Linked DNA regions of Homo sapiens: regions 1 and 2 are each linked to region 3. The links are contacts of gene promoters, found by promoter capture Hi-C in human tissues and cell types (Jung and others, 2019). All regions are on one chromosome and are shown on one strand. The core of a region is centred on a gene start or on the middle of the fragment in contact, and the rest is flanking DNA. Distances in the headings are between cores, read along the strand shown. Region 1 holds the start of APRT (adenine phosphoribosyltransferase). Region 2 holds the start of ANKRD11 (ankyrin repeat domain containing 11). Region 3 overlaps ACSF3 (acyl-CoA synthetase family member 3).

Region 1 (3,238 bases), core at 739-3,238, 290 kb after region 3:
GCAATCATATAAGCGTTTGTCTCAGGGGAGCCCCAGAGGGATGACTTCCAGTTCCGTCTGTCCTTTGTCCACAAGGAATTTCCCTGGACGCTAATTATGAGGGAGGCGTGTAGCTTCTTATCATTGTAACTATGTTATTTAGAAATAAAACGGGAGGCAGGTTTGCCTAATTCCCAGCTTGATTTTTCTCTTGGCTGAGTGATTTTGGGGTCCGGAGATTTATTTTCCTTTCACACCTTCTCAGCAGCTGCCAAGAATCAGGTGCCCAGCTCCCGCTGCCTCCCGGCCGGCCTCCTCCAGAGGCCAGCGCCACATTGGTTGTTGAAGGGCAGGACTCGGGGCTCCTTGCTGTTCCCACGCCAGCCCAACAGCCCGGGTTGAAGGAAGCCACAGGGCCAATTCTGTGTTGAACCCTCCCCAGGCCCCTCCTCCAGTACCCCCCCACCCCACGCCTTCCCAGGCCCCCCTCGGGCCATCTGGGAGACAGAATCAGGAACAAGGAAGGGGAAGGCGGAGGCCTCCTGGGCTGGACGTGGACGGCTGAAGTGTAGCTCACACACTTGGACCGGTGGGGCCGGCTCATGTGGCAGCTTCCCCGGGGACGTGAGGATGTCAGGGTCCTCCATTTCCACCTTCCCTAGGGGTCTGGAGCCCAGGCCCCAGGCCTTGCCAGCCCTGACCACCGCACACTGCGAGGCAGCCGCCCCTACCACGCCCCTTGGCATCAGACGATGGGTCCCCCACCCGCCCTGGAACCGGGGCCCCAGCAGCCGCATGCAGCCTCCGGCCTCCCCCTCCGAAGGCTCCTGGGGGCTGCCTTCCACTGAGTGGGTTTTCCCTTCTGCAGTAACTGCCAGGCCAAAGCTGAATTGTAAAAGTTGCGAAATGATGGGCCGGGCGCGGTGGCTCACGCCTGTAATCCCGGCACTTTGGGAGGCCGAAGCGGGCAGATCACGGGGTCAGGAGATCGAGACCATCCTGGCTAACACAGTGAAACTGCGTCTCTACTAAAAATACAAAAAATTAGCAGGGCGTGGTGGCGGGCTCCTGTAGTCCCAGCTACTCGGGAGGCTGAGGCGGGAGAATGGCCGGAACCCAGGAGGTGGAGCTTGCAGTGAGCCCAGATGGCGCCACTGTGCTCCATCCTGGGCGACAGAGCGAGAGTCCTTCTCAAAAAAAAGTTGCGAAATGAAGAAAAGTCTTGGAATAGAGCACAAGGCATTTTAGCTCTGGGGATTTTCTTGAAAGGAAATTGTGTTTGGGGGGAGTTATGCCTCACACAACCCCCTGGGTACCAGTCCTCGGGCGGCCAGGGGGTTCACAGCTCCCCACCCCAAGGCTAAGGGGTCACCTGGCCTCTGCAGGCGGACAGAAGGGCTTCTGCCCTCGCGGATGCGCGCCCTGGCCTGGCCACACCTTCCGGCCTCCCTCCCCCGGGTCCGGGCGGGGAAGAGCCGCCTCAACGGCAGGGCCCATCCGCGAGAGGCCAGCGCCCCCGGCCGGTCCAGCCCAGGCCCGCCGCCTCCGCCCTGGGCTGCTCCCTCCGGGCCCTGCACCGCCCTCCTGCTACTTGGACCGCTTCCTCACGCCCTTCTCCACCCCGCGCGCCAGCCTCCCGCGCGCAGCGTGGGGATCTCGGCCAATAAAGGAGAAAGGGCGCGGCCCGTACGCGCGCCAGGTGCGTGGGCGAGACCAGCTCACGCCCCTCCTCCAGCCGCCAAGGCCCCGGCCCACAGCTGCCTGGCTGCAGTCAGAAGCGTAGCCCGAGACAAGGAAGGGCGCCTTGACTCGCACTTTTGTCCGGTTCGAACGTTCTGCTCAGTGGTGCGTGGAATGCGAGCGCGTCTTAAAATCGATGGCGCCTAGGAGTCCATGAAATACGGTACAGGCTTCCGGCGACGGATGCCCCGCCCCTCACCCACGCTCCGCCCTCCGGGGATGCCCCACCCCTCGTGGCGGTCCCGCCCGTCCCCGCGCAGGCGCGCTCGGGCTGCCGCTGGCTCTTCGCACGCGGCCATGGCCGACTCCGAGCTGCAGCTGGTTGAGCAGCGGATCCGCAGCTTCCCCGACTTCCCCACCCCAGGCGTGGTATTCAGGTGCACGCACAGGCCGCCCTCGTGGCGCCCCGACCTGCGGGCCTACGGATGGGAGCGCGTGGCCCGCGACCTCCGGGCGGGCGGGGCGGGAACCCTCGTCTTTCGCCCCCGGGGCCCTGCCCTCCTTCGGCCCCGGCGTCACCAGGCCTGTCCTTGGGTCCAGGGACATCTCGCCCGTCCTGAAGGACCCCGCCTCCTTCCGCGCCGCCATCGGCCTCCTGGCGCGACACCTGAAGGCGACCCACGGGGGCCGCATCGACTACATCGCAGGCGAGTGCCCAGTGGCCGCATCTAGGGCGCTTCCGCCTCTGCGCGCGCCGAGGGCAGCACGTGGGCTCTGCGCGTCTGCTTGGGGGAGGGCCTTTGGGGTGCTTCAGGGGGCGCCGGGACGGGCGCCGTGCTTGGGTCGCCCGGGAAGGGTTGTGAGATTGAGCCCCCGAGGCCGCCGCGCTGTGCAGGCGTCCTTCCCGCAGGTTCCGGGTCCCCAGCCCAGGACAGGCGTGACCGAGTTGCCGGGTCAGTTGGTCTCCCTGGAGTGCCCAAGCTGAATCCACAGGGCCCAGCTGCCTTGCTTCTTGTTCCTTCTGCGAGCTGGTATTGAGCGCCTGCCACGAGCCAGGCCTTCCCTGGTGAAGATCACGGAATGCCCACCCAGGGAAGGGAGGCCTGGAGGCCTCCGGGAGAGCCCAAGAGGTGGCCCAGGGAGAACAGAGTGTTCCTGGCCGTCTTGCCTCTCCTAGGGTGTGACAGCCCACTCCCTGGACACTGCCCTGAGGAAAGCGCCAGCTCTTGCTGGAGCCACAACACTGCCAGAGCTCCCTTCTCACCTCCTGCAGGAAGCCCTCCCTGACCTCCTGCCAGGCCGGGGCAGGGTTTCCCTGAGCGTCCCCCAACCATCACAGCTCAGGCCACCTCGAGAGACTCCCTTTTTAGACAGAAGCCCTGGTGCAGAGCTGCCTTTGAGAGTAAGCTGAGGCCTGTCAGGTTTCTACCAGCCCAGTTACAGATGGGCTGCTCAGCTCAGAGAGAGGGGTGGTGACTCCCCTAGGAACACACAGCTAAGAAGTGGTCCCTTAAAAGACAGACCCAGGTCTGCACTCTGACCTGGAAGCAGCTCCGGGTAGGTGATGGGTAACATTCCT
Region 2 (3,185 bases), core at 274-2,773, 390 kb before region 3:
TAATCTTCCCGATGGGCCTATGAAATAGGTGCTCCTGGCCCGCACCGTGGCTCATGCCTCTAATCCCAGCACTTTGGGAAGCTGAGGAGGGAGGGTCGCTTGAGTCCAGGATTTCAAGACCAGCCTGGGAAACACACAGAGAGCCTATCTCTACGAAAATTTAAAAAATTAGCCGGGTGTGGTGATGCCTGACTGTGGTCCCACCTACTTAGTAGGCTAAGGTGGGAGGATCCTCTGAGCCCGGGAAGCTGAGGCTGCAGTTAGCACTGCACTCCAGCATGGGCGACAGAGTGAGACCCTGACTCAAAAAAAAAAAAAAAAAAGAATAGGTGCTACTTGTAGTTCCCATTTTACCCACCAAGAAACTGAAGATCTGAGAGACAAAGCCTACAGGGTGACCGCTAGTCACTGGTAGGGCTGGGATTTGAACAGGGGCGGTTTAACAACTGATCTCTCGACCATAATGCGTGTTGCCCAAGAAAAAAGACCGTCCTCACGGTCCTATCCACTCCGGACTTTGCAATTCCGTTATTTCGTAAATTGAGGCCTATAAATAGTTTGCTTACCCGTTGTCTTAGTCCCCAGTAACATGCAGAACTAAAGAAGAAACTGAAGGAGCACCGATTTTGTTCACCTTGCTTTTTGGTTTAGTTCTGGAGGAGAACACAGGTGCACTTAGAACAGGATCCACACTTACCAGAGGCTTGATTCATTTTAGCTGCAAAGAAAACCAGTCCTCGTCTACCTTTTTCGCGTGTTGGAGAACTAACTAGCAAGGCAGGGAATGCGGTTCGTGGGCGCTTGGCCTCCTCAAGCGGCTCAGGCTCTCAGAGCGCGAGGCCCAGGGGCTCTGGAGCCGCGGCCGCGACGCGCCCGAGGGCCGTTCTCTTCGACGGCAGAGCAAGAGTCACCGCGCGGGAGCCCCGAGCGACCGCCCCGCTGCCCCGGTACCCTCCCCTCGCAGCCGCCCAGAGCTCTTCATGCCCCGTGACGCCCGTTAGGGCAGCGCGGCCGGAGGCCGGGCCGGACGTGGCCCGAGATGTCCGGGGGCAGGCAGAAGACCACGGGCACGCGACAGGCAACCGCCGCCTCGGCTCTAGAGGTGGACGTTTTGTCTCCCTGCGCTTCAATACCAGATTTTGTTTCCAGACGACATCCCTGTTGCTTCCGGCACTTGGAAAGACCAATCGTCAGGCCCGAGAATGCAAGACCCACCCTCCTTTGCGACGGAGGCAGCCAATCCAGTTGCTCGCTACTTCCAGTGTCGCATGCGCCCTTACGCAGGACCCTGCCCAATCGTTACCGGGACGTCCTCCTAGTCCCGCCTCCGGACCGCCAGAGAGGCTGTCAATCCCGCCTCTCTCCTTCACTCCATTAGCGCACTAACTCACGGCGCTGTGACGTGCACAGCCCCTGCGGCCGGCCGGGGCGGGCCAATGGCGGTGGCGGATACGGCGGGCCAATGGGCGGGAGCGTCTCATGCGGCCGGCTCCCGCCGCAGCCGCCGCTGGGTCCTGGAGCCAGAGGCCGCCCTGAGACGGTGCGCGATGGACCGAGGGCCCCAGCCGGGGAGGCGCCGCCGCCGAGCCCGCGGCCAGACGCCCCATCAGTAGCGTCCGCACCGGGAGCCGCGGCTCTCGCCCGAGCCGTGGGCGCGCCCGAGGGGCGGGCTCGCCTCCCGCCGTCCCTCGCAGCTCTGCCGGGCCCGAGCCCGCGCCGCCGCCGCCGCCGCCTTGCCGCTCGGGCCGCGCGGCCCGGGAAACGCGGCCGCGGGCTGCATGGGCAGCGCCCGCGCCCCGCCGCTGAGCCGTCGCGGAGCCGCGCAGCCCTCGGAGCACGGTGAGAGGCGCCGCTGGTCTGGGGGCGGTGGTCGGGGCGGGCACGGGGCATTCGCGCGGCCTTGCGGCCTGCAGGCCTTCCCCGGCGACGGAGCTGCGCCGCGGGCCTCCGGGCGGGCCTGGGGGGTCGGGGCCGGGTGGGCGGGGGTCTTTGGGGGCCCGGGGCGATCGTGAGGGACCAATAATGGGTCCCGGAGCGGGCCTACGGGTCCGGGTTCGGGGCAGCCGGGGGTCTTTGGGGGCCCGGGGTGGCCGTGAGGGGCCCATAGGGGGCTCCGGGGGGGGCCTGGGAGGTCGGCGGAGCTTGGGTCGGCCGTAAGGGGCGGACGGGGGCTCCGGGCGGGCCTGGGTGGCCGGGGGCCCGCGGCGGCTCTGAGGGGCCGATTGGGGGCTCCGGGGCGGGCCTGGGGGCCGTGGGGGCCCGGGGCGGCCGTGAGAGGCGGACAGGGGGCTCCGGGGCGGGCCTCGGGGGCTCGGAGCGGCCGTGAGGGGCGGACGGGGGGCTTCGGGGCGGGCCTGCAGGTCTTGGGGACCTGAGGCTGCCGGGAGGGGCTGCCAGGGGGCGCTGGCCGGGCGCCGGGTTCTGCGGAGCTGGGGCGCCGACCTCTGACCCGCGAGAGGGGCGCCTTCGCCGTGCTGGTCGTAGTTGTTATTCTCAGCGTCCCTATTATTATCGCTGTTTTGAAATGAGAGCAGGCGGCTCTCGGGCTCCGAGCCGGAGGGGGAGGGCGAACTGGGGACCTGGGGGCGTCGGGGTTGCAGGAGGCGCGCGTAGGCCGAGGAGGGGCAGGAATGCGGGCAGCCGTGTGGGGGGTGTTAGGGGGAGGGTAGGCGGGCGGGTGTGGGGGGTGGCTGGGAGGAAAGCGGTGGCGGTGGCGGCTGCAACAGCAGCCCTTGGCCTCAAGGAACAATGTGAGACGTTGCCTGAAATGTTAATTTCCGTTCCTCATTTCATCATCCCCTGGCAGGGCGGTAGCTGTGTGTGTGGTGTATGTGTGTGCGCGCGCGCGCGCGCGCGCGTGTGTGTGTGTGTGTAGGGTTGGCCCTGCCACATTGATTCAGTCCCCTCTCAAAGAGGGATTGTACTGTTAACTCTTGTGTTTGTGTTATTTGGGAAGGTTGGTCGGGGGGAGTCTTGATTTTTCTCGAGGCTTGCTCTTTTCCTGGTGCCCCATTAAGATTTTCTGCTTCTGTTGTGTTTTTGGAAGGTTAGTGTTATATATCAGCTTCCAAGAAGTTTTGGAAGAGGCTTGGGAAGATGAAGCTGGTCTAACAGCTCCCTATGCTTTGAAACTGTTTTCCTTCTATGTAACATGCTTAGGATTCATCGTTTTTGTAGATTATGAG
Region 3 (3,574 bases), core at 974-3,473:
AAGTGTGCTGGCAGCCACCTCTCTTTGGCACGGTAGTAACTGCTAGATTTTAAAGAGGTCTTTCTCTAAAGCCCAATGTTATCATCTGTGAAGAAACAGGCTCACTTGCTCGTACAAAGCTGTTCTACATACTGGCTTCTCTTGTGAGACCTTGCCTCCAGTGGAGGCTAGAGAAGAGCCCCTTCTCTTTTCCAAGTTTGTGCCCACTGTGAGCCGGCCTCCAACCTTATTTTCCGGGGATGAGACTGAAGGTCAGAGAGGTGGAGGGCCAGAAAAGCTGCCTTCTCTCCACCTCCAGCCACCGTGTGGGGCTGGATGCCCTGCAGAGAAGAGGATGGGCCTCTCAGCGGCAGGAGAAGCAGAGGGAAGGTGGGCAGGGCTGACTGCTTGCAGGGACCCCTTCCTGGCGAAATTCACACCTGACTAGGGTTTGGGTCCTGAGCTCCCGGTCAGAGGCCTCAGAGCTCCACACAGCCTTCGATGGGGCCAGAAAGACTTCAGACAGGAAGAGTCCTGGCAAGAGCGGTGAGTGTGGGGCCGGCCACTGGTGGCTGCTGTGCTCTGGGCTTTAGGGCTGTGCCTCTGCTGGCCGGGACGTCTGCCCTGCAGAACAACCCCGCACAGACCAAGAGCCCAGTCCCAGGCATCTGGCCTCAGAGATGGGCTCCTCTGTGCTGAGAACCATCATGATACGATCCAAATTCTAAGGGCTTTTCCATACATTCACGTGTTAAACTTTTTTTCCTGTGAATAAAAGGCATATTCATTATACGGGCAGAGGCTGGTAAACGTCCATGGCCTCACCGGAGGGCTCTGCTTCACCACACCTGTGACATACGCACACCGTGTCCTTCCTGTGGGCTCAAGGCCTGCCCCTCATGCCCTCTGCAGCCTGGTGAGTGACTCTTGCCTGCAGTCAGCTAGAATGCACACAGGGCCACAGCAACTCCTAAAAGCCACCGCCATCCCCAACTGACAGGCGAGGCCCGATGCTGTGCACAGGGTCCCGCCTCGAGCCCAGGTCCTTTCCCTCCAAAGCAGCATCCCTGATCTGCCTGGAGACAGCCCTGCACAGGCAAGGCTGCGCGCAGCAGCTCGGCGATGACTGCTCCCACCCCAGCGCTCTGTGTGACCAGCACCGCGTCCTTCCCTCCCTGCCTGCTCCAAGGGAGACGCTACAGAGGAAGCCATGCAGAGAGGGGAGACAGAGACTCCACAGCAGCCCTTCAGCTGGGCCAATACTCCAAAGTAACCCTCCGCAGCAAGCAGCTCTCCAGCTGGGCCAGTACTCTGGAGTAACCGAGGGCTGCCACAGTGGCCACATCATAGCTCAAAGGGTCACGCCCTACGCCCTACACCCCGAATGTGTCACCTCTCGCAGTGGTGGGAACTGCAGGTGGATGAAGCGAAGGACCTCAAGATGGGAGATGATCTTGGAATATCCGCATAGGCTGCACAAAGGGAAGCCGAGGGAGCCCTGACTACGGAGAGAAGGCCGTGTGCCTGCAGAAGCAGAGCTGGACGTGAAGCAGCTGGAGCCAAGGGCACAGGCGGCCTCCAGAGCTGCAAGAGGCAGGAACGGACTTTGCCCTGGAGCCTCCTGACGGAGCAGCCCTACCACACCCAGCATCAGCTCCGCAAGACTCGTCTCAGAATCCTGGCCTCCAAGCATGTAAGAACAAACTCGCATTATTTTAAACCAAGCGCGTGAGCATTCGCCGCAGCCGCAGGAGCTCGCGGGCAGCAGGGCCTGTACAGTCACCTCCGCTCATCCAGTCTCACTATTCACGGTTTCAATGACGCGTGGCCCACTGCAGTCTCACAACAGACGAGCACAGTACCGGAAGGTATTTTGAAGAGAGAGAGCACTTTCACATAACTTGATTACAGTACATGGTTATAACTGTTCTGTTATTGTTAACCTCTTACTGTGCCTAACTTATAAATTAAGCTTTATCATAGGTACGTATGTATAGCAAAAAGCATCGTAGGTACAGGGTTCCATGCTACCCAGGGTCTCGGCATTGGCACGTCCCCTGTGGATAGGGGCGACTGCACACCAGGAAAAGATGCCTAGTCTGAGGGCGCGGCCGAGAGCCCTGACCCCAACCAGCGAAAGGCGCTTAGGCTGAGGGCGCGGCTGAGAGCCCTGGCCCCGACAGGGGAAAGGCGCCTAGTCTGAGGGTGCAACCGAGAGCCCTGACCCCAACTCACCTGCTGAGGGCTGAACTCAGGCATCATCACACAGGTGGCTCCCACCCAGAGAGGACAGAGCAGCGCGTTGACCACACCATGGACGTGGTGCAGCGGGAGCACGTGGAGGATCACGTCGTCTTTGGTCCATGCCCACTTGTGGACCAGCCCGGTCACCTGCAGGGGACGAGAGCACAGCTGAGAGCAAGAGCAAGACTGTGGCCCGCAACAGCACACACAGACCTCGGGCTCACGGAAAGGAGCTCTGGGCCTCCCCACTGAGGAAGGGGAAGGAGAAGGCTGGCTCTTTGTTGCTCCCCTTTAGCAGCCTCTCAAGATGACGACAAAACCACAGCAGATCTGCTGGGTCACTCACTTACCCTGGGGACAGAGGACAGCGCCACACACAGCCAGAGGCTTTAGGGAATTTAGAAGGTCGGGGAGTGGCTCTGCAGACACCAGGTCGACAGAGCTCCGCCCCTGCCCAAGCCTGGGACTCAGGGACCCAGCGCCATTCAGGCTGGAATCGACTCCCAGCCCAACCACTGGCTCAGGTGACAGCACTGCCCACACAGAGCTCTGCCGATTCGTGAATTATCGTCACCTGCTCAGCCGGGACAGAACCCAGGCCAGGCTCCAGAGCACACCCTCAGCTCTTACTGAGAAGCAGCGTGAGGCACGGCCCACTGAATCCTCTGTCCAATCTCACGGAGGACACTGCCTGCTGCCTGCACAGGCTCCAGGGAGAAGCACATGTGCATGTCACTCCCCTCAGCAAGGACAGAGGAGTCCAGAGCCCGTCCCTCCCGACAGGCGCGCCGCTTCCAGGAGTGACGGCGCAGGCCACCCAGGGCCCAGCCTGCTGTGTGCTCATGGCGCCTCGTCAGCCCACGACTCCGTGGGGTACACTTCCTGCCTTCCCCTTCCTGGCTTTTGGTTTTCATTTTTACTTGATTGCTTCAAGTGCATAGGAGACGTTATGACACTGTACAAATGCCAGGTAAGTGATGTGGTTGGAGAGTTCTGTGAAGATGTGACTGAGGTCACAGGACACACAAAAAACGAGTAAGACCCGGGTGTATGTGGGGTCCTGACCACGCATCCTAACACGTGGCTGGCCTCCGAAAAGCCCCTCAGCATCACAGGCAGTGAGTGGTCCCTTCTGACCTCATGCCGCATGGTCCTGGCAGGGTCACTCGGCGGCCCCTCAATCCCTCTACACCTGGACGCTCCCAGAGCCGTCCTGCGTGGCCAGTGAGGCCAGCGGCCACACCCCGAGGGCCTGCGTCCCTGTATCTCACACGGGTCTGCAGGATGGTGACAACTGTGAATGACTCCACAGAAAAGCGAATGAAAAGATGTGCTTCTGGCCCGGAGCCCA

Evidence for each region. The method cuts DNA at HindIII sites, captures the fragments that hold promoters and counts their contacts. A contact is called where the count stands out against the background at its distance.
Region 1: the fragment with the promoter of APRT here is called in contact with a fragment that was not itself captured in region 3 in 2 of the 25 tissues and cell types used here (H1 embryonic stem cells and lymphoblastoid cells).
Region 2: the fragment with the promoter of ANKRD11 here is called in contact with a fragment that was not itself captured in region 3 in 2 of the 25 tissues and cell types used here (hippocampus and spleen).

Annotation. Positions count from the first base shown.
Region 1 is chr16:88,810,678-88,813,915 of GRCh38, reverse strand. It overlaps APRT (adenine phosphoribosyltransferase), which reads left to right and starts at 1,988. Exons shown (of 5, transcript NM_000485.3): 1 at 1,988-2,096; 2 at 2,260-2,366. The coding sequence starts at 2,017. GALNS (galactosamine (N-acetyl)-6-sulfatase) reads left to right here. Exons shown (of 14, transcript NM_000512.5): 14 at 1-182. RefSeq lists enhancers at 245-928, 929-1,613, 3,119-3,238 and silencers at 1,326-1,585, 1,836-2,235. The HindIII fragment of the contact is 27,772 bases long and covers 1-3,238 here.
Region 2 is chr16:89,488,899-89,492,083 of GRCh38, reverse strand. It overlaps ANKRD11 (ankyrin repeat domain containing 11), which reads left to right and starts at 1,523. Exons shown (of 13, transcript NM_013275.6): 1 at 1,523-1,839. It overlaps LOC101930112 (a long non-coding RNA gene), which reads right to left and starts at 1,114. Exons shown (of 2, transcript XR_933895.4): 1 at 698-1,114. RefSeq lists silencers at 804-853, 974-1,063, 1,264-1,743, 2,318-2,367, 2,448-2,557 and 1 more and enhancers at 1,949-2,463, 2,464-2,977. The HindIII fragment of the contact is 15,043 bases long and covers 1-3,185 here.
Region 3 is chr16:89,101,400-89,104,973 of GRCh38, reverse strand. ACSF3 (acyl-CoA synthetase family member 3) reads right to left here. Exons shown (of 11, transcript NM_001243279.3): 4 at 2,215-2,370. Among named protein-coding and RNA genes, the nearest start is that of ACSF3, 9.3 kb to the right of the region's middle. The HindIII fragment of the contact is 6,924 bases long and covers 1-3,574 here.